Regions from separate parts of the Homo sapiens genome. Here regions 2, 3, 4, 5, 6 and 7 are each linked to region 1. Evidence: promoter capture Hi-C in 16 types of primary human blood cells and fetal thymus (Javierre and others, 2016). All regions are on one chromosome and are shown on one strand. Each heading gives the region's core, a stretch centred on a gene start or on the middle of the fragment in contact. The rest is flanking DNA. Distances are from core to core; before and after follow the strand shown. Region 1 holds the start of TFAP2B (transcription factor AP-2 beta). Region 2 overlaps MCM3 (minichromosome maintenance complex component 3). Region 3 overlaps IL17F (interleukin 17F). Region 4 overlaps PKHD1 (PKHD1 ciliary IPT domain containing fibrocystin/polyductin). Region 5 overlaps PKHD1 (PKHD1 ciliary IPT domain containing fibrocystin/polyductin). Region 6 overlaps PKHD1 (PKHD1 ciliary IPT domain containing fibrocystin/polyductin). Region 7 overlaps PKHD1 (PKHD1 ciliary IPT domain containing fibrocystin/polyductin).

Region 1 (3,914 bases), core at 1,014-3,513:
AAACCTTTTTGGATGTTTCAGGAACCCGTTCAACTGGCCTGACTGCCATTTCTGTTAAAGTTCAACCTTAGTCCAGACTTAAATAGGCTCCTTCCACCGAGCTGCGGATTCTGTTTTTTGAGCAGAAAATTTAGGCAGATAGGACCACCTGTAATATTCCCTCTCTCTCCCTGTTTATTTCTCTTTCTCTCTCTCCCTCCCCTCTTTTCTCTTCTCTCTTCCCTCCCTTCCACTCCACCCCTCCCTCTTCCTCTCTCCCTCCCTCCTTTCTTCTCTCCCTCCTTCCTTTTCCATTTAGCTACTTTACTTTCTGTAAAGAACGAATGTTACCCTGGTTACTTTTTAGAACCCACTGAAATGCCTCTGCATGCATATAGCTTGAGCTGTTTTCACCATGGCCCCGTGCTTGCTAATGTCATGCCCACTTTGGGCGCTAATATTCTTTAGGACAGTTCTAGCGCCTTGGACTTTACCATTATCCCGCCTGTTAAGGAAAGAAAAGGAGGCCGAACCGAAACAATCCCCACCAGGCGCGTAGGCGCGGCTCTTCGTTACAGTCGATACACAACCACAAAGAGAAAAGGAAAACCCCAAGCATCATTCAGCAACAAGACCAATCTCTCTCCTCTCTGCTCTCTCGCGCTCTCTCCTGCTTTTCTCCCTCTCCTCTCTTATCTCCTCCTCCTCTCTCCTACATACCTCCACACATACACACACCCCAACATTAGGATTCGGGGGGGGGCAGGAGGTGTGGGCGCCAGGCGCTGCCTGTGGGCGCTCGTCCGAGCCCGAGTCCCCCAGGAGCTTGCCGGCCGCGCCTGTGAGTCGCCCACTCTTAGGATCTTCGAGGCGGCTCTGCGCCGGGCTTTCAGGAGCTGTCCCGATCCGGAGGGGTCGCGTGTCTTTCTCGGCTCTTTGGGGAGCCTCTGCATCCCTCCACCTTTCGTCTGACCTAGCGGCCCGCGCCCGCCACCCGGGAGTCTGCTTCTCTTCCTTCCTTTTCTCTCCAACTTTTCCTCTTAGCAATCTCCATGGCCCGCTTCGCCCGCCTCGACTTCCCTCCTTTTCTAAATCCGCTTCGCCTTTCCGAAGTTTTTATTTCCAACCTCGACGTCTCAGCAGAACCTTCCCTTCCTCCCTTCCCCTGGCAACCACCTGGGGCTGTCCCAGACCATTCCGCTTAAAAGCGAGGCTCCGCGGGCTTCCCGGTCCCCAGCCTGGCCCGCCGCGCGCCCCGCGCCTCGCCCGCCTCGGCCGCCTCTCCCACCTCGCCCGCCTCTCCCACCTCGCCCGCCTCGGCCGCCTCGTCCGCCTAGTCCGCCTCGCCCGCGAGTAGCGGAGCCGTCTGGCCGCGTCAGCCCTCGCCCGAGCCGGAAAAGGGCTTTGGCGAGCGCGGTCCGGGCCCCGGAGGCGGCTGGCGTCCTCCTGGCTGGGCGCAACTTCTCCTGCCCCGAAGAGTTGAGCTAGCCTCAGTGCTAGAGACCCGTACGCATTGAACGTGGGCAGAAATTTCCGTGAAAGATGCCCACACAGGAGGCGGCTGCGATTTCTGTTCGGACGCAGTGACCCTCAAGGAAGCAAAACACAAGAAAACAGAAACTAATAAACTGCTACGACTTCTATTTTGCTCTATCCATCCATATCTCCAGCCATCTACTTCTTTCCCGCTAATTCTCTGTCCTCTACTTGGAACCATTTGTTATCAATTTCAGAAATTTTATTGAAAATAAAAATTAAAAGCCCGAGTCTGTTACAAATGAGGCTTGAAAACCCAATTCTCTTCCACACTTAAAACGAGAAAAGCCCCTGACTTTATCAGAATCTCGATTTTCTCTGAGAGCGTGCCCACATTCAGTAGCACCACATTCCCCATCAGAGCTTAAAAGGGTGGGGTGGGGTGGGGGGAGGCGAGGAAAAGGGAAAGAAAAATAAAATAAATAAAAACATTCCTAAATTAAAGTTGTCAGATTTCAGCCTTAAAGTCCCTTTTCAGAGCAGCGAAGTCTTCCCTAGCCAGCTTTTCTAAAAGTTAAAAAAAGCTGAGAAAACCGACCGGAAATCTACGAGTAAATAGCTTAAAAATATATATCATTTGGGGTATCAAGAAGCTCAAATTCTCTATCTGCAAAGCTCTAAGGTGCATCTGGGGGTGTCGACTCACCTCATAGATATCTTCGTACTTGACATTCTCCACAAGCTTCCAGAGCATGATGGCAGCCTGGTCTCTAGGAGGTGAGTGCATTCATGTGAGGAGCAGATGTCTGGCTTCTCAGGACTCCGCTGTCTGTAATGATCCATCTATAATTGGAAATGGGGGATACACACCAAATCCGACGCTCCTCTCCCATCGCAACTTATATCTGTTGTCTCAAACAATAGGCTGGACAAGTAAGCCTCAGCAAAGAGAAAAAACATTATTGCACACACAGGAGTTAGATGCAACCCACAGACATATATACTATAAAAATCATAAACCCGTATTTACACCCAGACACCCACATATAGTTATATAAGCACCTCTGGGTCACACAGTCTGCAGACTCCAAATGTGCATTTAACAAAGAGTTGTTCAGGGTGATTAATATAATATATACATTTTATAACTTCTATATCGAAAATGACACATCATTGTAGCCACTAACTGAAGTCTTTGCAATTCATAATGAGAAACCAGGGGCCATCAGTCCCCTATTTTCTATGTAGATTTTAAAGGGGGACACTTACCAAGATTTTTAAACACAAAAGCTCCCTCCTATTCATGTATGTTCCGGAAGAGAGTATTTTGAAAGGCTGGATATGGGGGATTTTAAGGACTATCTCTGTGTTGATGGCTACACAACTTTTTTTTTTTTAACTTTATCTCTGTCACCATAGAACAAAAAAGCTAGCCACCGTTGATGACCATTTCTAATATTTTCTGGTCATTTTACCTAAAACCTTTGGAAACTTAAATACACCTCAGTTTGTGCTGCTTGTTATTTTAGGTGTTGTTTGTATGCATTTTCAACGGATTCCATGCACCATTCCTCTTGGCTGGAGTCTCCATTTTATCAAGTTTTTTTCAGATGTTGGAAGCAACGTACGCACACGTTCAGACAAGGTTAATTTTGAGCCTTTTTTGCAGAGGCCAAGGACATTTTATATTTGCATCTGTTGTGTATGACTTGTAAGTGGTTTTAATCATGGAGAGTCAAGAAAGGGCCACCCGAATCTTTGAAAAGGTTTAAGCAGAATGTCTTCAAAGAGATAGTGAAAAATATTTTAGTGCATGTGGAGTTTCTTCTTTTTTTTGTATAATTTTTCTTAATAAGATGATTCATATAGTTTTTAAAAAGGAAAACATCATCAGCAACAAGAACAATATTAACCAGACTTAGAAAATGGGCACCATTTAAGGCGCAGGGATTCTGAATTTTATCATGAAATGAATACTCATCTGTTCCCCTGTTCCCCCTTTCCCATCCCCTCTGTTTTTCTACTCCCTTTCAGGGTGCGGAGAGCTTCTCATAGCCGGAACAGACGCCCAGAAGAGGATCTCTGCGCCTGGGACAGAAAAGAAATGCCAGGAGGGACCGAGGAGGGATGGGGCAATTTGGGGTGGAAGTTATTAAGCCTGGTGAGAGTGAATCTGCAAAGGGTGATTGTCTTTAAATCCAGGACTGCTGTGTGCAGCTCTGCGCGAACAGGGATGGACGCTGTTTGAGTACAGGGCTCCGGACAACCTTGTTGGACGTCGATTCAATCAAAACCAAGGAGAAGCTTCATGAACTGCAGAATAAACAATTCTGCAGATTTTTAATTTAATTTTTAAAGATAAGTCAAAGGAAAAGAACACAAAGAAGGTGCTTCAGAAGGAACTTCAGAAATAAACCCCTTATTTCCGGTTGAATTTTTTATGTTTCGTCTTTCCTTTT
Region 2 (3,914 bases), core at 805-3,304, 1.5 Mb before region 1:
TTAAAACACTTCCCTTTTTCACTGCTTTTTGTCTGTTTTGCTCTTTGAGGTCAAGCCTTTCATTCCCACTCCCAGAACTGCAGCAGCCTTGTTGTTCTTTCTTCCTATTGATGTCATGTCCACTTCTGTTGTCCTCGCATTCCCCAGTATGACCAGTATAAGACTCCAATGGAGAACATTGGGCTACAGGACTCACTGCTGTCACGATTTGACTTGCTCTTCATCATGCTGGATCAGATGGATCCTGAGCAGGATCGGGAGATCTCAGACCATGTCCTTCGGATGCACCGTTACAGAGCACCTGGGGAGCAGGATGGCGATGGTGAGGCCATAAGAATAGTAAGAGTAACTAATGGAAAGGCGCTAAACAGATGGTAGTTTCTCAGGCCCAACCCAGGTGGTGGTAGGTGTTTCAGTGTCCGGGTTGATGTTGAAGAGCCCTCAACTGTTTAGCCACCTCCCCTTCTTGCTTAGTGGAGGGTATCCTAAGGTGTGTCTTTTGTCCATTTCTGGGTCTGGGAATAACTGAGCATCTTGTGTGAGCCAGGCAGTTCCACTATCTTTATTTGTGGGTTCCATGTGTCTGATTCTTTTTGGGCCCTTTCTTTATGAATCTTGGTGTCTCCCCTTCTTGTGCTATAGAAGAAGCAATTTCCCCTGGGTTAAACTCTTTATTACTCTCCTTTCTCCTAACTTGGGTATACCAGCTATGCCCTTGGGTAGTGCTGTGGATATCCTGGCCACAGATGATCCCAACTTTAGCCAGGAAGATCAGCAGGACACCCAGATTTATGAGAAGCATGACAACCTTCTACATGGGACCAAGAAGAAAAAGTGAGCATTCTCATAACTCTTCCTCAAGGGAACCTGAAATATGTGTTATATTAGAGCATGTGTATATCTAAGCTTAGCTAAGGCCTTATATGCCCAGGTCAAAGCCATGCCTGGAGTCATAACCACGTGGATTAATTTTCTTCTTTTCTGGGTCCACAATATATCCTTTATCCTGGCCAGTTGCCTTGTAAATGTTTAGGTGATTCAGCGCAGGTTCAGGTCTTTTCTTAAAATAGAGTTTTGATGATACGCCTGATGGTGGGTGTGCCTTATATATGAAAGATGGCAAGTGTCATGTAGCCATTTGTGATGAAGGGTCAGCAGATAGCAAACATTTGAGACTTTGTAGGTAGACTTGGTGAAGGAGACGTGTGATCAGGTGCTCAAAGCATGAAATGTGGGATCTTACACCTATTTTTGGCCATGATGCAGTAAGAAGCATAGCATAATCTTCAAAGCTGTTGGTTTAAGAATGTAGAATTTGGAGTCAGAAAACTTTTAGTCAACTTGAGCTTCTCTGAGCTGTAGTTTTCCCACCTACAAAATAGAGCAAATAATACCTAAACTTTCTGCCTAAACTACCTAACTTACAAATAATACCTGTAATAATTAAATAAAAATATGTGAAAGAGTCTTGTCTATGTTCCATATAAATGGGAGTTATGATAATGGGTTCTAGGCTTTGTTTTGACCCTGGCTTTTCTGAGAGGCAAAGCCACTAATCCAGGCAGGTGGTAAGGTGTGGCAGGGAGATGGAATTCACTGTGTGTGGCTCCAGGGAGAAGATGGTGAGTGCAGCATTCATGAAGAAGTACATCCATGTGGCCAAAATCATCAAGCCTGTCCTGACACAGGAGTCGGCCACCTACATTGCAGAAGAGTATTCACGCCTGCGCAGCCAGGATAGCATGAGCTCAGACACCGCCAGGGTGAGTGCCTGGGGGAGCCTAGGCTTGGGGTCCCTTAGGTATATGGCTGGGCAGGAGTCCCTGCTATCTGGGAGCTTTGAAAGCATTTTAACTTAGTGACTTTTTTCCTGGTCTGAAGGGCTTCCTGTTATACAATTTTAATCATTTCCTTTTATAAAGGAAAATGAAATAAGGACCCCAGAGATAACATGTCTCTTATTAGTTAAAATGACATTGGCCTCCAGAAGCTGTGATTCATTCAGCAAACATAGGAGTGACTTCTGGGAAGTGACCTAGTCTTTCCTCTTACAAGCAATGTAAAATTAATAAACACTCTTTTCAAAGAGCTCAGATCCGGAGCGGGGGAAGCACAAAGGTAGATAGAAAGACTTCCGTACATATTTATAAATATTTACCCCAGTGTGGTACTTACAAAGGAATGAACGTGAAAGGCTATTTGAGCATAGACGAATAAACTGTTAATTTCTTTTAGACTTCCCTGAAGGGGTATGAATGTCAAGGAAGGATTCCCAGAGAGTATGATATTTGGACTGGACTTTGAAAAAATGACTAACAGGCAACCATGATGGTTATTCAAAGCAATTTCTGGTAACCTAATATAGGTGTCCATGAATTTGTCTAAATCTTTTTTTTGTTTTGTTTTTGTTTTTGTTTTGGTGAGACAGAGTTTCACTCTTGTTGGCTAGGCTGGAGTGCAATGGCGCGATCTCAACTCACTGCAATCTCCACCTCCCTGGTTCAAGCGATTGTTCTGCCTCAGCCTCCTGAGTAGCTGGGATTACAGGCATGCACCACTACACCCGGCTAATTTTGTGTTTTTAATAGAGACCAGGTTTCTCCATGTTGGTCAGGCTGCTCTGGAACTTCCTACCTCAGGTGATCCGCCCGGCTTGGCCTCCCAAAGTGCTGGGATTACAGGTGTGAGCCACCATGCCCGGCCCAAATTTGTCTAAATCTTTTAGGGGCAGTGTAGTTCACATAGGATTTTACAGCAGAAAGACCCAAGTCCAGAACTCTTATTATGTTACATAGACATAGATTCTTGGATTAGACATGATCCCAGATCATCTACTCAAGCCTCACCCACTCTGTCTTTTCAAATCCCTGCTGGGACTTTTTTTTTGAGATGCGGTCTTGCTGTGTTACCCAGGCTGGAGTGCAGTGGCATGGTCTGGGCTCACTGCAACCTCCGCCTCCCGGGTAGGTGGGACTACAGGTGCGTGCCACCATGCCCGGCTAATTTTGTATTTTTAGTAGAGACGGGGTTTCACTGTGTTGACCAGGCTGGTCTCAATCTCCTGACCTCGTGATCCGCCCATCTCGGCCTTCCAAAGTGCTGGGATTATAGGCATGAGCCCGGCCGGGACTTCTTAATACCCCCAGTGACAGCATGCGCAGAGCATCACTGTTTTGAAATTTTAGAATATTTATTAAGCTTAAACCTATTTTCCCACAACTTTTACCTGTGGGTGTTAGTCTTGTTTTCTGGAGGTTGTGTATCGCCTGTCTTCCTCATTAAACAGCTTACTTTCTTTTTAACTGTTCCTTTCCACATGCGAACTTCTGGTGTGTCCCAGGCCCTCTCATTGAACCTAGAACTGAGCGTCATACACTATTTTAATTGTCTTAGTGTGGGGTCTGTAAGTGAATTCCAAGAGAATTTGGATTCTCTAGGTCTGCTAGTGCAGGCCAGGATTTCACCAGCTTTTTAGGTGGTTTAAGAATTAGAACTTGTCATGGAGTGTATGACTTCCAAACTCCGGTAGCTTTCTAAATTATTACAAGATTTGATGAATGAATTTAAATGTGAATGTATTTATTTTTGAATGTCATTGTGGATATACATGGTAATTTAGGAAACTTGAAACAAGAAGTGACCAGGATACGTCAGTGATGGGGTCATATAATGGGAGACCCGGGAGGTGTGACAGAAGGAAGTAGTTTCTTTTTTTTTCTTTTTTTTTTTTTTTTTGAGATGGAATCTCGCTCTGTTGCCCAGGCTGGAGTGCAGTGGCATGATCTTGGCTCACTGCAACCTCTGCCTCCCGGGTTCAAGCTATTCTCCTGCCTCAGCCTCCTGAGTAGCTGGGATTACAGGCATGCGCCACCACACCGGGCTAATTTTTCTTTTGTATTTTTAATAGAGATGGG
Region 3 (3,914 bases), core at 850-3,349, 1.4 Mb before region 1:
TACTCTGTACTGGCAGATTTGTGTATGCTTAATTTTCAGTTAATTTGGCCATTCTAATAAACAACGACTGATAATGATAGAGAAAGCATTCAGTAAGTGTTAACTGTTCATATTAATATTGTTATTATTGTCCTGGAAATTCTGATCAATCCACTGAAGTAGATGGGAATACTTTCCACTTTATACAGATGAACAAAAGCTCAATTAAGCTATTTATTTAACATTGCTGGATACTGTAAGCACAAGAACTGGTACACCAATCTAAGCTTTCTGTCTCCACATACAGTATGCTTTTCTTTGGTTCAGAGGCAAGATTTGTGAATTTAAAGCCATTGCATCCAAGCAATTCTGTTGGGTAGCTTTGTGCTCCATAGCTATTTCTAATTCTAGTTTCCTTAAAGAAATCTGTTGGGTTGTCAGCAAGAAACATAACAGTGCAAGGAGCATTGGAATAGGATTAGAAGTTGAGAGGTGCAGGCAGATAGGACATCTTCAATAAGTAGTTGAGGCAAATTCTCATGGACCTAGAGGTTGGCCAGGTGCATGCTTACATGTGTCCACACATTGCTGGTGAGTATAGAGGATGGATGTTCAGGTTGCTCAGGTGAGCTCACATTAGAGTGAGGTGCAAAGCTAGGCTGAGAAGGTTGTTGTCCTGTTACAGCTCACCTTCACCTGGTGCTTTCCCTTGCCCCTGTCCCCTATTATACAGATTGAGAGCGATATCTATTCATCTGCTTTATAGGTGGCATATAAGAGTTCAAGTCATGCTCTGGATTTCTCTGAGAGGTGCTGTTTAAATCATTCTTAAGAACCAGCAACAGCCTGGTTCAGAGCCCCTGCTCTGTATTACATAACCACTAAAATCTACAGTTTCAGATCAAAAGCTTTGTGGAGCAAATTGGAGTATTTGCAGACATCATCTGATTTCCTGATAACGAGCTATGTGACCTACAACACTTATGCACATCTAGTACAGCTGTCACATTACCTAAAACACTTAGCTCTTCTAATGAGACAAAACTAAGATTAATGTTGGTAATAATAAAAATGACCTTCAATGACAATAGCACTGACTACTGACACCTAGGTTTGAGTCCCCAGACTGGTACTCATAGGCTGGTGAACCCAATCAAGTTATTTATTCCCTCTGGGACAGAACTCTTTCACCTGTCTAATTGGGATAATTAATACTAGCTCTGATTACCTCACCAGGTAGTTGTGAAAATCCAGTGTTTAAAGAGATGTAAAAGAATTTTCTAATATACTCTAAGAATATATAAGCAAATGTAATAATGACTTGTTAGAAGCATTGTAATTATTGCTAAGTCATATAACTCCAATGTATGTATTTAAAAGTTTTCATAATGAAAATTAATAGTGATTCAGTGAGTATGACACAGAAGAGGAAAGAGAAAACACAAAGGAGGAATTTACTTAAGAACCCTAAATATGTGATTGGTAGGCTTGGGAAGTTATCTAAGACCCTCTAATATAAGTTGGCATCTTTTAAAAAAAAAGTCATAGCAGGCCAGGCGCGGTAGCTCAGGCCTGTAATCCCAGCATTTTGGGAGGCCGAGGTGGGCAGATCACTTGAGGTCAGGAGTTCAAGACCAGCCTGACCACATGATGAAACCCTATATCTACTAAAAATACAAAAAATTATCAGGTGTGGTGGCGCACGTATGTAATCCCAGCTACTCGGAAGGCTGAGGCAGGAGAATCGCTTGAACCTGGGAGGCGGAGATTGCAGTAAACCAAGATTGTGCCACTGTACTCCAGCCTGGGCGACAGAGTGAGACTCCATCAAAACAAACAAACAAACAAACAAACAAACAAACGCCATAGCAGTTTGTCAAGACAAGGTATATGAGTGTAAATTCCACATCTGTCTAGTCCACTGTGTAGCACAATATAGAGTTAGCAAGAGTCGCCAGTATTGGATACTTATCATATGCTGCCAGTGTTCTTCATAATTTATATGGATCATCTCATTTAATCTTCACATTTTTTTTTTTTTTGAGGAAACAGAGTCATCGCTTCTAAGAGTCCTGGAATTGAGTTACAGACCCTGGACTTCTGACTCTGAAGCCCATGCCCTGAGCTACCACACTGTAAAGTCAAGAGCTAGTTGTTGAATGAATGAACGATTGTGGGGGATGAAAGTTGATGATTGCTGATTATCTAAAGGCAAATCAGCCTCATTCTGACTCTTCTGGGTCAATCTTGCTTTCAACTTCTTTTTAGTGTCAGCTTCCTCAGTATGGCAAATGGACACTATGACCTTTTTGTTTACTCTTATTGTTTTTTGTCTCTAGTATCTGCAAAATATGAAAAGGAAGGCCTTTGAAACCAACATGTCTAATCACCTTCCCTACCTTAACTCATGGAAGGTGTGAGCCTGAACAACGCTAAGCCTAGAGAATAAAAGCAACTTATTTTCAGCTCTTTTTTTTTTTTTTTTTTTTCCAAGCAGGAGTCTCGCACTGTCGCCCAGGCTGGAGTGCAGTGGTGCAATTTCGGCTCACTGCAACCTCCACCTCCTAGGTTCAAAGGATTCTCCTGCCTCAGCCTCCCGAGTAGCTGGGATTGCAGGCGTGCACCACCACGCCTGGCTAATTTTTATATTTTTAGTAGAGACGAGGTTTCACCATGTTGGCCAGGCTGGTCCTGAACTCCTGACTTCAGGTGATCCACCCACCTCGGCTTCCCAAAATGCTGGGATTACAGGCGTGAGCCACTGCACCCGGCCTTCAGCTCTTCTTCTGTATTATGTTGAGAGTTGGTGATGGGCCTTGCTCATCCCCAGTAAGGGTCAGTGGCAATGGTGGGTGAGCAAAGCATGGTTGTGACAAAGGGAATCTGGCAAGATTTGTAGCTTTTCTTTTCATTAGGTCTTCAGTGCACTTTCATTCTTTGCGCATTCCTATAACACCAGATAAACTGGCATTTCAACGTAAGTATAAAAAAAATGCTCCAGAGCTAAAGAGAAATAGTTTCCATATTCTCTCTTGTGGTGCATCATTAGTGCCCCGGTTTCTTTCAATTAGCATGGATAATTGGAACTTTGCTATCGTTGGTTTTGCGTAATGTTTTTCTTAATGCAGTGAGCTTAACTATATAGTTCAATTTAGCTGTATCATTTTGTTCATTCATTCACTCATTCACTCATTCATTCCAAAAGTGTTTATGGAAAATGTGTAATATGCAGGAACTTACAATCTAATGGGTGTAGATCTGACAGGAACACAAATACTACATTTCTAGACAATTAAAAAATGCTGCTTGAGTGCTAGATGATCAAAGCTTTATAATTTAAGGATAATAAACATGCTTCTGATTGAACCATTTTAGGGACTGTTCTTAGAGGAGATCACATCTGAGCTGGGCCTTAATGGAAGGGTAGGATTTTGACAGACAGAGTATTCTAGGCAGTGTATTCTAGGTAGAGGGGTGGCTCCGAAGAAGGATTTTGTGGGAGATTCATGGGATATCAAGTTGGAAATAAAAACAAGAGCTATCGTTTATTAAGCCTCTATTTTTCTTATACAGATTTATAGGTGTTTTATATAGAACATTCTATTTAATCTCATTAGTAGTCTCATAAAGTGAGCATTATTATCCAGTTGGAAGGAAGAGAAACTAGAGGCTCAGCAAGGAAGCCAGGATAGGATTTTAACTCAATCTCAGACCCTTGCATCTTTCTGTCTCACTGTTTGGGAGCTTTTAGACTATGGAGGGCTTCAGTTACTAGCTAGGCTACTGAGTTTAGTTCTCAGTTTGGCACCTTGATACCTTTAGGTGTGAGTGTTCCCATTTCCAGGTGAGGAACTGAGGTGCAAAGAGAAGCCCTGATCCCATAAAAGGACAGGAATGCTGAGTTCCGCCAGACCATGCATCTCTTGCTAGTAGGT
Region 4 (3,914 bases), core at 1,080-3,579, 1.2 Mb before region 1:
TTAAACAAAGAAACAAATAAACAAAAATGTGGCAGTTAATTTGTGGTCCATTGTAGCACCTAATAATTCATATTTATCATAGTTTTTAACGACCATTTAATAATGTTCAAAGGAAAATCTTTCAGCTGCATTTGGTGTATTTGGGAGTGTTAAGGAGTGAGTCAGCCTACCCCAAAAGGCAAAAGAACATTTTGACTTCTATAGTAAGTGTTGCAGGGTATGTCCCTTTAACTGCCATTTTGAGGAACCACAAGCCAGGTAGTAACTAATTTTCCATTCCCTCTCTCATTAATCTCTTTAAAATCTAAAAATTTTAAATTAAAAAATTAAAATATTCATTTATTGGTAAGTTAATATAATTATATTGTGGACTTTTAAAGTAGTTATGTTTGAAGCTATTTTTAGGTATGAAATTATCTCAAAAATAAAGATAATGTATGTACATTAAAGCAAAATTTAAAAACATCTTTATATTGATCATCTGAAGATTTAAGAAAATAGCATTATCAGAAAATATTCTTGGTATTTATTTACAGAGTCTAATCAGTTCTTTAACTATATCTGCCTATAATATTAGGTTGCTGGAATTTAAATATTAAAAATATTATCTTTTAAAAAATGTTTTATGAAATTGCCTGTAATCTTCTTCAAAGTTGCATTTGATGGGTTTTAATTTGAAATTGTTGACATTTTGAATTGACGCTTATCTGTGGATCATAATATTTTTAATTAGAAAAATGCTCTCTGCAGGTGTTGAGGTAGCTGGTAAGCTCAGAGCAAATTCTCATAAGCAATCTGTCTTTATTTCTAATAATAAGAATAGTATTTACTATAGATTGAGCTTCTACCATGATCCAGGGCTTGCAATAGCTGTGTTAGGTGGTTTTGTCAGCTAAGCTTCCGTATAGCTGTGTGCTGTGGCTACAACTTTCCCAAACATGACACAACAGCAAGGGTATTTGTGTCCAGTGTAGAGATGTATTGGGCTACTGAGACTAGGCAGGTGCTATATCTCTTTCTAGAATATTCTGGACAATTGTGTGGCATAAGAATCAGGTTGTTCTTCTTTATTACCATAAAAGAAGACAAAGTACAAGGGCAGTCATTTGTTGGTTCAGTGATTCAGGCCTTGGTTACTCTTGCTTGACTCTATGTTCTACTTTACAGAGCACGGCTCAGTGGGTTCTTTGTGGCTCCAGAGACAAATAATTACACTTTCTGGATTCAGGCAGATAGCCAAGCTTCCTTGCATTTCAGTTGGTCAGAGGAACCAAGGACTAAGGTATTCACTGTCTTCTCATTTTCCTTTTCTCTGTTGCCAGTCCCATACCCATGAAGAAAGAAAGAATCAAAGTTAAGGCTCTCATGTTTTACAGATAGTTTAACATGCCATTGGATGATCAGGAACTTTAATTGTTGAAAAAGAACTTGTTTGAATGTGAACGTACTATTTATTGAGCATTTACTGTAAGCCAAATATTATGCTACATCTTTTATAGACCTTGTCTCTAGTTTTCACTGCATCTCTGCAAAATGTATGTATGTATGTATATATGTATATATATTATGTATGTGTTTGTGTGTATATACACATATATACATAAAGATATATGTATGTATCTTTTCCACATGAAGAAATTGAGGCTTGGAAAGATTGTGTGGGCCAGGTGTGGTGGCTCATTCCTGTAATCCTAGTGCTTTGGGAGGCTGAGGCAGGCAGATCACTTGAGCCCAGGAGTTTGAGACCAGCCTGGGCAACATGATAAAACCCTGTCTCTATTAAAAATACAAAAATTAGCCAGGCATGGTGGCGCATGCCTATAGTCCCAACTACTTGAGGGGCTGAGGCAGGAGGATCACCTGAGCCTTGGGCAGTCGTGGCTGCCACTGCACTCCAGTCTGGGCAACAGAGTGAGACCTTGTCTCAAAAAAAAAAAAAAAAAAAAAAAAGAAAAAGAAAAAGAAAAAAAAGAAAGATTGTGTGCCCAATCCACTTGGATAGCAAAAGGCACATTGAGGATTCAACCCCAAATTTACCTGACTACAAAACTTGTGCCTTTTCCACTAATTTTGGGTGGAGATGTAGGCAGCTGTATGTAGGAATTCCTCAACAACATTGAAGGATAAGAAAAGATGCCTTTAACAGCAGCCAAAATGCACTTATGCTATTGACAAAGAATCACAATATTTTCCTCAAATTATTACTATGTATGTCTGAAATTGATTTGCTAGTTTATTGGAGAAATGTCATAGATTTTGATGTGATCAAGTCATTCGAGGTCTCTGAAGGGCTTAATACTACCTTCTCCATAGTGTCATGTAATCCTAGGGTTTAGGTTGGTTGTTCCTTCTCTGAACATGGCCCATCTATTCTCATTTGAGTACTACTCAATTGTAAGAGATAGATAGATAGATAGATAGATAGATAGATAGATAGAGAGCTGGAGAAGCATAAATAACCACAGGGCTGAGGTAACTGGGTTAATATGTTAAAAAGGCAGACCAGTTCAAAACTCTCTTGATAGTAGCAGTTCAGACACTTAGTGTTTGAGAAAGAGATGCCTGGAAGCTGCATAGTATTGATCATGATATGCTTATTTGGGCATAGGTGAAAGTGGCCTCCATCAGCGTCGGCACTGCTGACTGGTTTGACTCCTGGGAGCAGAATAGGGATGAAGGGACCTGGCAGCAGAAGACTCCCAAGTTGGAGCTGTTGGGTGGAGCCATGTACTACCTGGAAGCAGAGCATCATGGGATAGCCCCAAGCAGGGGGATGAGGATTGGTGTCCAGATTCACAACACCTGGCTGAATCCTGATGTGGTCACCACTTACCTACGGGAGAAGCACCAGATCCGAGTCCGAGCCCAGAGGCTTCCAGAAGTACAGGTCTGTGTCTCTTTCCAGTCCCATGGAGCTGAACTCTGGAAGGAATAAAGTCCCATGTAGCAGGAGCACTGACTGGGAGTCTGGCGACCTGAGGGGTCATTATAACCTTGCTGTCAAAGAAATAGGATATCTCTTTAACAGCATTGTGAAGATGTTTACAAAAATGTGATGTCTTATTCCTGAGATTATCTTACTCATTGAGTTAGTTTTAGGAATTTAAGTTCCAAGCAAGTCTTCTTTTAGAAACTTATTTCCCAGAAAAGAGACAAGGTCCTCTAAACACACGCCCGACATGTATGCGTGCATGCATGTGAGCATATACACATTAAATTCCATAATTTTTGACTGATTGAGGTCCTATTTCCCTATAGCCTGTGTTTTCTAAGTCTACTTTGAAAAGGTCATGTCCTTTGGGTCTCTCAGCTGTGCCCCATATTTTCTTTGAAGAGTTTTTATGTGTTATAGTTTTTGTTGTTCACTTTTTGGTGTACAAAGACAAATCAATATGAACTCTGCCCTCTAAAGCTTACAGTCTAAAAGTAAAACATGTGCACAAATAACCATAGAACAAAGTAGAAAGTAACAATTGATTTAAGAGATTAAAAGCTGGCCAGGTGTGGTGGCTCACGCATGTAATCCCAGCACTTTGGGAGGCCAAGGCGGGCTGATCACAAGGTCAAGTGATCGAGACCATCCTGGCCAACATGATGAAACCCCATCTCTACTAAAAATACAAAAATTAGCTGGGCATGGTGGCATGTGCCTGTAATCACAGCTACTTGGGAGGCTGAGGCAGGAGAATTGCTTGAACCAGGGAGTCGGAGGTTGCAGTGAGCCGGCATCACGCCACAGCATTCCAGCCTGGTGACAGAGTGAAACTCCATCTAAAAAAAAAAAAGCTGCATAGAACTTACTCAGTAGCAAAACTATAATGTGCCCTACAGGGAATGTGTTGATGTGTTGGAAGCAAAGCAGAGACTGCATAAGCCTCCAAGAGAGGGTGCATGCCATGGAGCTGCTTCTGCCT
Region 5 (3,914 bases), core at 478-2,977, 1.2 Mb before region 1:
CCTCTTCAACCTTTAATTGTTACCATCAACAATAATCATAATGACAATTTATTTAGCTTTTATTACCAGGCATTATTAATGCTGGGGATACAGTAAATAAAAACAAATCCTCTGTTCTTGGGGCAGTGATGGTAAGTGTATAGGATAAAAATCAAGAAGGGAAGGGGATGAAGAGGGATGGAGTAGATGGTTGTGATGGTATAGTCATTGGCATTGGAGGAATGACATGAGTGGCCTTAGAGAAGGGAGATATGGGTGAAGTGAAGGAATGAATTCTGGGGAAATCTTGGGGAAGACAGTTCAAGTCAGAAGGAACATCAAGGAACAAAAAGTCTTGAGTCAAAGTTAGACTGGCTTGTTCCAGAATGTCATGGAGGTTGCCATGGCTGGAGTAGATTGAGTGAGGGGAGAGCAGTAGAAGATGACCCAAAGCAAGTTATATGGCCTTGGGGGATATGAATGGCCCTCAGCTCACTCAGCTTTTATTCTGAGTGAGATGGTGGCCATTGGAGGATTTCAAGTGAAGTGACATGATCTGACTTAGGCTGCTGTGTGAGAACTCACAGTAGGGAGGCAAAGATGGAACCAGCAAGACCGGTTAGGAGGATATGACAGACATCCAGGGGAGAGATAATGTTGGCTTGGCCTAGGGTAGTATACCTTAGAAATAGGTAGGATATTTTATTCTTTTCTTTACCCCAAGGATCTCTTTTTTAACTTAAAAAATTGAGATATAATTCCCATATCATAAAACTCATTTTTAAAAAGTATAAACTTAGCAGTCTTCAGTATATTCACAAAGTTGTATACCTCATCACCACCTGATTCAACAACATTTTCATCATCATGGAAAGGAACCTGTATACATTAGTAGTCAGTCACTGTTTCTCCCTCTTCCCAATCCCTGGTAACCACAGATATATTTTCTGTCTAAGTGAATTTGCCTATTTTAGACATCTAATATAAATAAAATAATGCAACATGTGACCTTTTACATCTGGCTTCTCTACTTGGCATGATATTTTTAAGGTTCATGTATGTTGTAACATGTATCAGTACTTTATTCAATTTTATGACTAAACAATATTACATGGTATGGATATACCATATTTTGTTTTCCATCCATCTCATCATGTGCATTTGGATTGTTTCCACTTTTTGATTATTATGAATAAGGCTGCTATGAATATTTGTGTACAATGATTTGCAGGAATATATGCTTTCAGTTCTTTTGGGTATATACCTAAAAATGGAATTGCTGGGTCATATGGTAACTCCATGTTTAACTTCTTGAAGGATTGCCAAACTGTTTCCAAAATGGCTGCATAATTTTACATTCCTACTAGCAATATAAGAGGGTTCCAATGTGTGTTAGTCCATTCTTACACTGCTATAAAGAACTACCTGAGACCGGAAAGTTTATAAAGAAAAGAGGTGTAATTGACTCACAGTTCAGCAGGCTATACAGGAGGCTTGACTGGGGATTCCTCAGGAAACTTACAGTCATGGCAGAAGGTGAAGGGGAAGCAAGCACATCTTCACATAGTGACAGGAGAGAGAGAGCAAAGAGGGGTACGCTATGCACTTTTAAACAACCAGGTTTTCTGAGAATTCACTCACTATCACAAGAACAGCAAGGGGGAAATCTGCCCCCATGATGCAATCATCTCCCACCAGGATCCTTCCCCAACATTGGGAATTACAATTTGATATATTTGGGTGAGGACGCAGAGCCAAACCATATCACAATATCTCCACACCCTCACCAGTGCTTGTTATTATTATTTTTCACAGTAGCCATCTTAATGGGCATGAGATGATACCTCATTGTGATTTTGATTTTCCTAATGACTAAAAATGTTGAATATCTTTTCATGTGCTTATTGGCCATTTATACATCTTTGTAGAAATGCTTATTCAAATCTTGCCAATTTTTAAATTGAGTTATTTGTCATTTTATTGTTGAGGTGTAAGTTCTTAAAGTATTTTGGGTACTAATCACTTATCAGATAAATAATTTGCAAATATTTTCTCCCATTGTGTGAGTTGCCTTTTCACTTTTTAAAAATAGTGTTATTTGAAGCACACAAATTTTTAATTTTGTTGAAGTCCAGTTTATATTTATTGTTATTGCTTGTGCTTTTGGTGTCACATCTAAGAAACTATTGCCTAATCCAATGTTACAAAGATTTATGCCTATGTTTTCCTCTGAGGGTTTTATAGTTTTGGCTCTTAGATGTAGGTACCTGATTCATTCTGAGTTAATTTTTGTACATGGTATGAGGTAGGGGTCTGTATTAGTTTGTTAGGGCTGCTGCAATCAGGTACCACAAACTGAGTGTTTTAAACAACAAAAATTTATTGTCCCATAATTCTGGGGGCCAGAAGTCTGAGATGAAGGTGTCAGGAGTGTTGGTTCCTTCTGAACCAAACTTTGAGGAAGACTCTGTTCCATGTCTGTCTCTTAACATCTGGTGTCTTATAGGCAATCTTTGGTGTTCCTTGGCTGGTAGAACACCACCCCAATCTCTGCCTTCACCTTCATATGGTATCCTCCCTGTGTCTTGCTTGTGTCCAAATTTCCCCCTTGCACACCCCTGCCAACTTTTTTTTTTTTTTTTGAGACCGAGTCTCATTCTGTTGCCCAGGCTGGAGTGCAGTGGTGCGATCTCAGCTCACTGCAACCTTTGCCTGCCAGATTCAAGCAATTCTCCTGCCTCCTGAGTAGCTGGGACTACAGGTACAAGCCACCATGCCCAGCTAATTTTTTGTAATTTTAGTAGAGACAGGGTTTCACCATGCTGGCCAGGCTGGTCTCGAACTCCTGACCTTGTGATCTGCCTGCCTCGGCCTCCCAAAGTGTTGAGATTACAGGCGTGAGCCACTGCGCCTGGCCCAAATTCCCCTTTTTATAAAGACACCAGTCATATTGGATTAGGGCTTATCTTTTTTTTAGTGTGACCTCATCTTAGTTTAATTACATCTGCTAAGATCCCATTTCTGAATAAGGTCACATTTGGAGTTATTGGGATCTAGGGTAATAACCTAAATTTTGGTGGGGATGTGGGAGACATAATTCAGCCCTAAACAGGGTCCAACTTTGTTATTTTGTATATGGAGTTGTCCCATTTTGTACATGTGCAAAAATATTAGTAGCATAATTTCCTAGAAGTTGAATTGCTGGGTCAAGAGGTTATTTGCATTAAAAATTTTGATAAATATCAAAAGATTCTCTTTAGAGGTTGCATAATTTATTGCCTAAGCAACAATGCATATATGAGTGTTTATTTACCACATTTTACTAACACGGTGTGTTCCCAACCCTTTTGACACTTACCTATTTTATAGGAGAAGAAGAATATTTCATTGTGGTTTTAATTTGTGTTTATTTTATTGAGAGAGAAATTGAATATCTTTTCATGTGTTTAGGGGCATTGTGTTTCCTTTTCAGTGAAATGTCTGTTTATCTCCTTAGCCCATTTTTTCTAATGGGGTTATTGTTCTTTCTTACTGATTTTAAAGAGCATTTTATGTATTAAGGATATTTGCCCTTTATTATCATTTGTCTCTTTGTTTTTTATTTTGGAAATTCGTAAATATTTTTAATTTTTACATAATAAAATATATCTTCCTTTTATGGCTTCAGGACTTCTAAAATACTTAGGATAGACTTTGCAACTCTGAAATTATATGAAAATAAAAATTCTGCCATGTTTCCTTCTAGTCAAAAAACTTTCTTTTTAATATTTAAATATTTGATAAATTGGGAATTTATTTTGGTGAAGCATATAAGGTAGAAATTCAAATTTAGTTTTTTTTCAGTGATATTTACTTATTTTATTTACTGAATAATTTATTTTGCACTTATGTGAAATGTCACTTATATCCTAATCTATAGCCTCATACTGATCTGC
Region 6 (3,914 bases), core at 459-2,958, 1.2 Mb before region 1:
GAATATTGAAACACTTATCACCTGTGTTCTTAACTGCAGTCTTAGGATGACAGAGGAAGTAATTCTGAATTCTGAATATTAGTTTCAATGACAGCTATAGGAGTCATGGAGGAAACAAGCTCTTGGCTTTGTTCTGAGGTGAGGTTGCTGAAGACATCTGCTTATTGGAGGTACCAGTAAAGGGATGGAGATTTTCAAGCTGGATATCACTTGAAAATTAGCTTTGTGTGTTCAGTTTTCGGTTTCTTATTATAGGCAAAAGAGCCAACACTCATGTTGTCTTCTTGTTTTGCAATACTCACATAATTACTTATTTCTTATTCAGTAAAACACCACAATTGCTCACTACTTTAAGCTGCGTAGTGATCATATAAATTGTGGTATGAGAAGCCGTGTCTTTGTGGGGAAAGAGATGAGAGAGTAAGTTGCAAAGCTTGGGGATTCACAACACATGGTAATACCCCACTGAGCTTCAGGAAATAAAGTCAAAAGGAAGAAATTACTGTTATTACTACAGGACCTTACTACATTTGAGATAGCTCACATTTAGCCAGGTGATTACCTTATTTGCCTAATCATAAATCTTGTACCTGTGCACTTAACCGTTTACATACCTCCTTTCTGTGTAGTGTTTAAGTTTTATTCCTAATTTATTTGTCTGCAACTTGAATGTGGGCTAAAGATTTACAAAATGATAAAAGCACCACATCATCTGAGCTTGGATGAGAATTTAATGATGGATAATGCTATTGTGATGGAAATTTGTGCTGTGTTGTCTTATACAAAGAGGAGAAGGAGGGGAAGGAGGAGGGGGAAGAGGGAAGAGGAAGAAGAAGGGGAGGAGAAAAAAATTTTTGTTAAAATGCTAGAAATTGAGTTTCCTATTATCATCATGTATATAAACACATTATGGAAGAGAGATAGAGTCCACAATGGGAAATTTAAGATACAATAGAAGATTGAAGTTCAAAACATTGTCTGATTCACTGCTCTACCTCCTCTGCTAGGAACAGTGTTGCAGAGGGTATGTGCAAAATTAGTGCTTGGTGAGGAATAAATGAGAGATAGCATAAACAGAAAGCTAAGACTGCACATTTATAGGCTCTAATTTTTAACTAATACTGCTACATTTTTTAAAAAAGCTTTCATATATACACTGCTCAAATTAATATACTTTTAAAAGCCCCGTGTTATTATTTCAAAACACTTAATTTCAACTAGTATAAGATAAAAATCAATGATGTTTCAGGATCAGGTAAGTTGTGATATTTTAAGTTTTATAACTTCTTGGGGAAGAATAATAAAATAATTATTGTGTTTAGAAAGATTTAGAAAAGAACTCAACATTCCATGATTTTTTAAAGAGGAAAATTAGTTGGAAACTGTAACTATTTATATGGCCACTAGGTGTCACCAAACACTCATTGATTGTGCAAGGCACACATTTACTCTAGAGGAATGCATAATTTAACTAATTTTCCTTTCATAAAAAAGTCTTTTAAAAGACTTTCAATCACAATGTCTAAAGATTGAGAGGAAATTGTGAGAGCCAACTCCAGAGGTTTCTTACTTAAGATCCAAGATGGGATTTGGGGATTCTGTTAACCCGCTGAAACTGGATGAAGCATTTTGAGTGTATGACTGTGTATTTTTTTTTTTTCCCTAGGAAGTAGGTCTATAATGGACATCAAATGTCAAAGGGGATAGGTCTTAGACATTACTAGAAACTACTACTAATTTCTCCATTTTCAGACAGGATTGAGTACAACCAAGTTAGCTAAAAATCACTTGTATTTTTAAAGATTTTTCAGGGGAGAATTTCCCAGCAGCAACCCTTACAAGTGTTTCGCAGTTGCTCTTTTCAGAGAAATCCATCCTCTGCCTAATGGATGCTCCCCTACTCTAATTTTTTCAACCTTAATCAGCGGGTGGTTCTTTGGAAAGTGGAGTATTCTTAGTTCCTCTATGGCAGCAGTTCTGGAAGTGTGCTTCCCAGAGCAGTAGCTGCAAGGGCCTCACCCGGGAGCTTGTTAGAAATGTGAATTCTTGGGCCCTACTGAATCAGAAACTTTCCAAGTAAACATTTTAGTATCTCACTTTTCAGCCCTCTCTGAAATCCTATATTCTTTCCTAATTTGAAGCCCCAAATGAGGAAGCTGTTCTATACAAGCAAGTTCTGGCCAAATTGGGTAGCATCGTAAGATGCCTGTGTATCGTCTGATCCCATGTTTGTTTGTACAATTATACTGCAGTCTTGCTGGTTAATAAGCTTTCTGTTACCTACTGTTATCCCAAGGGGTGTGTGTGTGCACGCACGCATTTCTACCATGGCTGTGCACAGCTGGACTTTCCTCATATTTATATGATTTCTTTTTTTCTTTTGTAGTTTACTGTCTTACTCTTTTCATTTGTTCTTTTGTTTATTTCTGTTAACTTCTCTCATTTACCAAGGTCGCTTTGAATTCTGACCCGTGCTTTGAGTTTTTTTCTTCAGTTTGACTTTGTACCATAGAGTGATGTTTCACATTCCAGGTTACAGATAATGACCCTGAACTCAAACGTTCTTAATTATTGTTTTGTTTATGCCTGTGCCACAGAACTAATATGTTTTCTTTACATGTGTGGGGCAGGGGGAGTTAAAGCAGGGGGCTCTACAAATGTGCTTTTGCTATTTTGGAGGTCACCCATTTTTACCATCCCCACAAACTGTACTTCTAACCATAGGAGAAATTTCCTTTTTCTTGTAATGAGTTGCCAAAACATCCTGTTAGGTGAAACTAATACTTTGTGTTTGTTTAAAATGAGCAAAATCTTTGATCTTTGGCTTTCTTGCATTTATACCTTGAATTATACCACATGACATTTTCATGGAAACTTTAACTTTTCCATAAGGCATGGAAAGCTAAAGTGATTAAGGTCACGCAGCTATTTAGTGGCAGAACTTTGAGTAAAACCCATAGATTTTGATCCCCAGCCCTGGGTGATTTTCATAATCCTGCTTGTCAATTTGCATCTACTTAATCACCTTTAATGAATTCATTATTTTATAGGTGTGGAGCTTGTTTTTATTTGCCTTAGGGCTTACTAACTGGAAAGTTCTTATGTTTTGTCTGTTCATACAAGAGTCCTACTGTCAGTCATTTTTATTGCTCTAATTCATTCAAAACACATTCACAGCCAACCTCCTAGGTGCCAGGTGCTTTAGAATATAACAGCAACAATAGTACTATTTGGGCATGATTGCATAACTACAAACCCTCCCCCACGTACTTATCTCATGTAACCCTTGCCACAGCACTGTAATGAGGCGGGGAAGCACAGGTCTAAGCCCACGGCCCTTGATAACCTCTGTTGCATTACCCACATGGGCAGGCTTGCTGCAGAGGAAGCAGGCTACAGAGATTTTTTTAAATTTTCCCTCTTTATTAAGGTTTTCAGACAGAGCTGCTCCTAAACCATCTCATGTGGAGCTTTGTTCATCTTCTAGTTAAAGATCATTCCCAGTCTGCCTCATGATGCTTTTTATATGTGGGTCATGACTCAGAAAAAAATGGCCTGAGAGTCAGCATGCTTCAAATACTTGCTTTTTATCTCTATAACATGCTAATGTTTATAATTATGTGAAAATCAAGAAATTCATAAACTTATCCAAGTCAATAAGACAAACAACCCAATAGAAAAATGGGCAAATGAGAGAAACAGGAATTTCACAGAAGAGAAAACATGAGTTGTTACCAAACATAAAAAAGTTGGTCAACTTGGCCAGGCACGGTGGCTCATGCCTGTAATCCTAGCACTTTTTGAGGCTGAGGCAGGTGGATTGCCAGAGCTCAGGAATTCAAGATCAGCCTGGGCAACATGGTGAAACCCTCTCTCTGCTAAAATACAAAAGATCATCCGGGGTGTGGTGGTGT
Region 7 (3,914 bases), core at 922-3,421, 1.2 Mb before region 1:
AAACATTATAATGCATTTTTATTTTATAGAAATGGAATGGCAGGTCTGCTATATCTAATAATATGAAATAAACTGTTACCTTTAACTATTCAGCAATGACACAGTTATATTTCATGCCAAAAGTATTTAGAATCATATGAATGGGTTTCTGTATTCAATGTTAAAATAATTCAACTTTGAATTTCCCATTAAATATGATATTATAAAAATGATTTAGGTACAGTCCCCTGGTGTGTTTGAAACTGTACACTCTGCAAACACATAAATAAAAATATATCTAATTGGAAAAAAAGAGGGAATTCAGGAAATTAGCCTGAATGCAGCTTAAACTCATCTGAACAAGTTAATTGTGCCTCTTTTGTTTCTCAGGGACTCTTTGTATCAAATGAGTTTATGATATTAGCCTGCTCCTCTCATATCAAGATATGTTATCAGTAAATAAGGCTGTGGTTTTGATGAGTGTTTGTCATATTTTGGCTCCCAAAAGTCCTTATTTTTCTTTACAATGTGTTTAAATTTATTATAATATCACTGAGTAATTATTACATCACCATATAGGAGTTTGCATTATCTCAGCTACACTACTCTTAACTTTTATCTTAAAATAACAGTTTCTGTGCTCAGTGGAAAACCGCGAGCTTTATTAGCCCTGTGAAAATGTCCCTATGAATGACAGACAAAAGGTAGTCCTATTGGAATGTGACATGATTATTTATTTCCTTCTAAAGTACAACTTCATAAATTGAAATTATTTTTTTCTAAATAAATACTGTGTGTAATTTTCTCAATGAAACCATATGTCATGGGATTTTTGTTTTTGACTATAGGAGTATAATGCTTACATTTTTTTTCTGAGCCTTTCCAAATATGAAACTTTAGCTATCCTGCAGAGAGGCCTGCTTGCTATGAAATTGCTATAGATGGTACAATGGCCTCACATGGGGATTCTTTGGATTCTACAGGGGAGGTGAGGCTTGGTAATTGAAGAACCAGAAGTGTTCAAATTAGTTTACTTGCTGACTCATTGGGTGACTGGATAACTCAGTTTTGTAATCTCAAGTTGCTATTTCTCGACCAGCGACATGGAAAGATTTTATGGAAGTCCTTAGTAACAGAATGTGAAAACTGTGATATGTCAATATGTTATTTTATCAGTATATTTAATTCTTCATGTGCGAGAAAAGCTTGCTTTTCCACAGGTCCATTTCTTGAATGCATAGTAGTAAACTACCATCTCCCTGAAGCCTGATGAAGAATTAAAGGCACCCAACTATGAGTAGGTTCCTTTCCCAGGTATGAAGGGTCTCAGATAGTAGTTGAATGGGTTTCAGTGGTATATGTGGTGTGGTGTGTTAGTGGTGGTGGTTGTGGTATGTGTTGTGTATTTGTGTTGAGTAAGGAGTAATATGAATTTCATCAGTGTTTGGATATGTGGTTCTATACTAGACATGTTAAACATTTTTTATTTTGCTGAAAGCTCTAATATGTTATCAGTTTTGAGTCTAATATACATAGCATTTCTATTTGCAAAAACAAATAATCATCTCAGCCTTGAGATACAAAAGGCAATTCAGTCAATTTGGAGAACTTGGGTTTTCTCCTCAGGGTTGTCCTCTTTTTAATTCTTGTTGATTCAGCCATAAATCTTCCCCTCCAAAGACCTTGCTTTTATTCCCACAGCACTGAAGTCTGCTCTTACTTTAAAGAGCCACAGTAACTGCTCCTAACATGCACATCTTTATTAGGAAATGTAGGGAACCTTGACCAGATAGCGCAGAGCAGCTGGAGCCTGGAAGGTGAAGAAATTTGGGTAAAGATGAATGGGTTATTCAGATATTAAAAGTGTTATGGAAACGGACTTCATCGAATTGAAAATCAGCTCAGAAAAAAAACAAAAACAAAAACTCCTGTGTCTCAGGGAGTTAGAGGAGAAAAGAAGGGGAACCAGAAGGGAGAGGCAGGAGCATTGGGAGGAATGAAGAATATTGAACTGGTTTTAGATAAAGGCTGTTACTTGGAGATAGAAATGACCTTAATGGTATTACTGTATGTATGAGTGGATGTTAACTTGCATTAACTCTATAAAATGGTAGTTTCAGGCATAGGCTTTTTCCACTTTCTGTTCTTTTTCCACTGGTGCATTCCAGCTTTGAGCTAATCTCCTCGGGCAGGTCAAATAAGGGTGTGTAGGCACAACTCCTCTAAGAGCTTATTTTAGTTACTGTCTTCTTGAATTGCTTTGCTGGTAGGAGGGTTAGGCAACACCTCTTCTAGTCCCCTGGCTGTCCTTGGCTGGAGTTAGCTGATGGTAGACTAGTGGCAGGGTTGTGGATATCCCAACAATGCCACAAAGTCCCTTTCTGGTTGTATCTCTCCATGGAGCCAACATAAATGTAAATCAGCAGAAAAGTGTGCAGATGAGAAGATATTGTCCATAAAATACACACCAATGGATCATTTCAGCTACACCAGAAGAAAGGAAATGTGTTTTTTCTAGAGGATAAAAGAGAAAAGTAGCCATTTAATGAGGGAATAAACTACCCTGAAGGGTATATACATTAAAAAAAGGGAAAAAAACCAAACAAAATAAACAATAAAACAAACAAATAAACAACAGGAAAGGCATGCCTTGATTCTATAGGTTTTACAAAGAAAGCTCTAGCTCCTTTCTAGAATATTATAATTACTAAACTAGTCTTCTCAGGTTCTCCCTTTGATGGGAGATGCAGAATAACTTGGAATATTTTGAAGAGTTCCCTTACTTCCAGTTAAGTGCTAGTAACCTCCTCAAATTAATGGATACTTAGTTGATTTTTTAGACTCCTTTTCTCCTTTACCTAAGAGAATTTGCAGCAGCTTTGCAGTTATTCCCTCTGTGACAGTGATCTCCAATATCCAGTTCTTTATTTTGAGGTCAAGGAAGCACTTCCCTTCCCAGCCTTTTGAAGTTTGATAGGGCCATAGGACTTGTATAGAATGTGGGTAGAAGCACTGAATTTCTGGAGCTCAAATCTCTAGCCTTTTTTTTTTTTCTGTGTTGACTAAATAGCCCAGAGTGTGGGCTGAACATACGTCCTCAACATATGGGGGACAGTTGTTCTGTCCAAGAGATTTGCCAACATCTGTAGTGGATGTTGTGTGAACAAGACATAAGCTTTTGTTGTATTGCTCCGCTGAAAACTTGGGATTATTTATCGCCACGTGCAATCTAGCCAGACTTAACTGATGACACCATTTTTAACAAGTGGCTCTGCAGCCTTGTGGCAGACCCACTCTATTCCACATGGTGTCTTTAATTAGTTTTTCTGTGAGTCTACAGGGAATCAGAACTGGATTTACATTCTTGATGGCAAGTATGACAAGTTAAGCTATGAGATGGAACCATTAGGCAGAAACGACTGATGGGACTTAGTGAGGAAAGGTGGCTGGACATTTGATATCATTCAGCCTCTTTTCATCCTCTGGACTCCCACTCTCCTCCCATGTCATCGGTGATGTGTTTCCACCCTCATCTGCAGTCCTGATGCCCTGAAGATCCTCTGTGGGATTTTCTAGTACTGAGAAATTAATCACTTTCTTTGTAATGTTGTTGCAAACAGTGGAAGTTTCTGGGGAGACATGACTATTCTTGGCATTTCTGCCTGTGCTAAGTCTCTATTTATTTCCTTCTAAGAAACACACTGGAATATTGTGCATCAAGAAACTTTCCTCAAATAAAGAATATATTTTACATCCATTTCCATAGCTCTCTATAATCTGTTTATAGATAGCTTCCAAACTTATGCTCTTTCATTTTTTCTCTTTAAATTTTACTTAAAAAAATTTGTTATGAAGACTTAAATCACAAGGGAAAAATGACTCAAATCATTTGATAAAGAGACTATATTGGCTCACAGAACCGATGATAAAGATGT

What was found. Contacts are between HindIII fragments. The CHiCAGO score rates a contact against its expected background, and 5 or more counts as called.
Region 2: a contact is called between a fragment that was not itself captured here and the fragment with the promoter of TFAP2B in region 1, in 1 of 17 cell types (neutrophils). The highest score is 7.2, in neutrophils.
Region 3: a contact is called between a fragment that was not itself captured here and the fragment with the promoter of TFAP2B in region 1, in 1 of 17 cell types (neutrophils). The highest score is 6.0, in neutrophils.
Region 4: a contact is called between a fragment that was not itself captured here and the fragment with the promoter of TFAP2B in region 1, in 2 of 17 cell types (total B cells and naive B cells). The highest score is 7.0, in total B cells.
Region 5: a contact is called between a fragment that was not itself captured here and the fragment with the promoter of TFAP2B in region 1, in 9 of 17 cell types (naive B cells, neutrophils, total B cells and 6 more). The highest score is 13.4, in naive B cells.
Region 6: a fragment that was not itself captured here is called in contact with the fragment with the promoter of TFAP2B in region 1 in 17 of 17 cell types (monocytes, megakaryocytes, fetal thymus and 14 more); the score reaches 35.8 in monocytes.
Region 7: a fragment that was not itself captured here is called in contact with the fragment with the promoter of TFAP2B in region 1 in 10 of 17 cell types (total B cells, endothelial precursors, M2 macrophages and 7 more); the score reaches 10.7 in total B cells.

Annotation. Positions count from the first base shown.
Region 1 is chr6:50,817,220-50,821,133 of GRCh38, reverse strand. It overlaps TFAP2B (transcription factor AP-2 beta), which reads right to left and starts at 2,263. Exons shown (of 7, transcript NM_003221.4): 1 at 2,162-2,263. The coding sequence starts at 2,242. It overlaps LOC124901490 (a long non-coding RNA gene), which reads left to right and starts at 2,108. Exons shown (of 2, transcript XR_007059923.1): 1 at 2,108-2,232; 2 at 3,490-3,889. The HindIII fragment of the contact is 1,562 bases long and covers 2,200-3,761 here.
Region 2 is chr6:52,270,150-52,274,063 of GRCh38, reverse strand. It overlaps MCM3 (minichromosome maintenance complex component 3), which reads left to right. Exons shown (of 17, transcript NM_002388.6): 10 at 148-322; 11 at 708-834; 12 at 1,613-1,763. Among named protein-coding and RNA genes, the nearest start is that of MCM3, 13 kb to the left of the region's middle. The HindIII fragment of the contact is 2,292 bases long and covers 909-3,200 here.
Region 3 is chr6:52,238,993-52,242,906 of GRCh38, reverse strand. All of the region lies in intron 1 of IL17F (interleukin 17F), which reads left to right. Among named protein-coding and RNA genes, the nearest start is that of IL17F, 3.6 kb to the left of the region's middle. The HindIII fragment of the contact is 2,419 bases long and covers 890-3,308 here.
Region 4 is chr6:52,057,296-52,061,209 of GRCh38, reverse strand. PKHD1 (PKHD1 ciliary IPT domain containing fibrocystin/polyductin) reads left to right here. Exons shown (of 67, transcript NM_138694.4): 15 at 1,168-1,282; 16 at 2,609-2,887. Among named protein-coding and RNA genes, the nearest start is that of PKHD1, 28 kb to the left of the region's middle. The HindIII fragment of the contact is 2,171 bases long and covers 1,244-3,414 here.
Region 5 is chr6:52,037,082-52,040,995 of GRCh38, reverse strand. The region is part of intron 27 of PKHD1 (PKHD1 ciliary IPT domain containing fibrocystin/polyductin); the gene reads left to right. Among named protein-coding and RNA genes, the nearest start is that of PKHD1, 49 kb to the left of the region's middle. The HindIII fragment of the contact is 9,281 bases long and covers 1-3,914 here.
Region 6 is chr6:52,018,661-52,022,574 of GRCh38, reverse strand. All of the region lies in intron 33 of PKHD1 (PKHD1 ciliary IPT domain containing fibrocystin/polyductin), which reads left to right. Among named protein-coding and RNA genes, the nearest start is that of PKHD1, 67 kb to the left of the region's middle. The HindIII fragment of the contact is 1,127 bases long and covers 1,145-2,271 here.
Region 7 is chr6:51,997,344-52,001,257 of GRCh38, reverse strand. The region is part of intron 35 of PKHD1 (PKHD1 ciliary IPT domain containing fibrocystin/polyductin); the gene reads left to right. Among named protein-coding and RNA genes, the nearest start is that of PKHD1, 88 kb to the left of the region's middle. The HindIII fragment of the contact is 1,970 bases long and covers 1,187-3,156 here.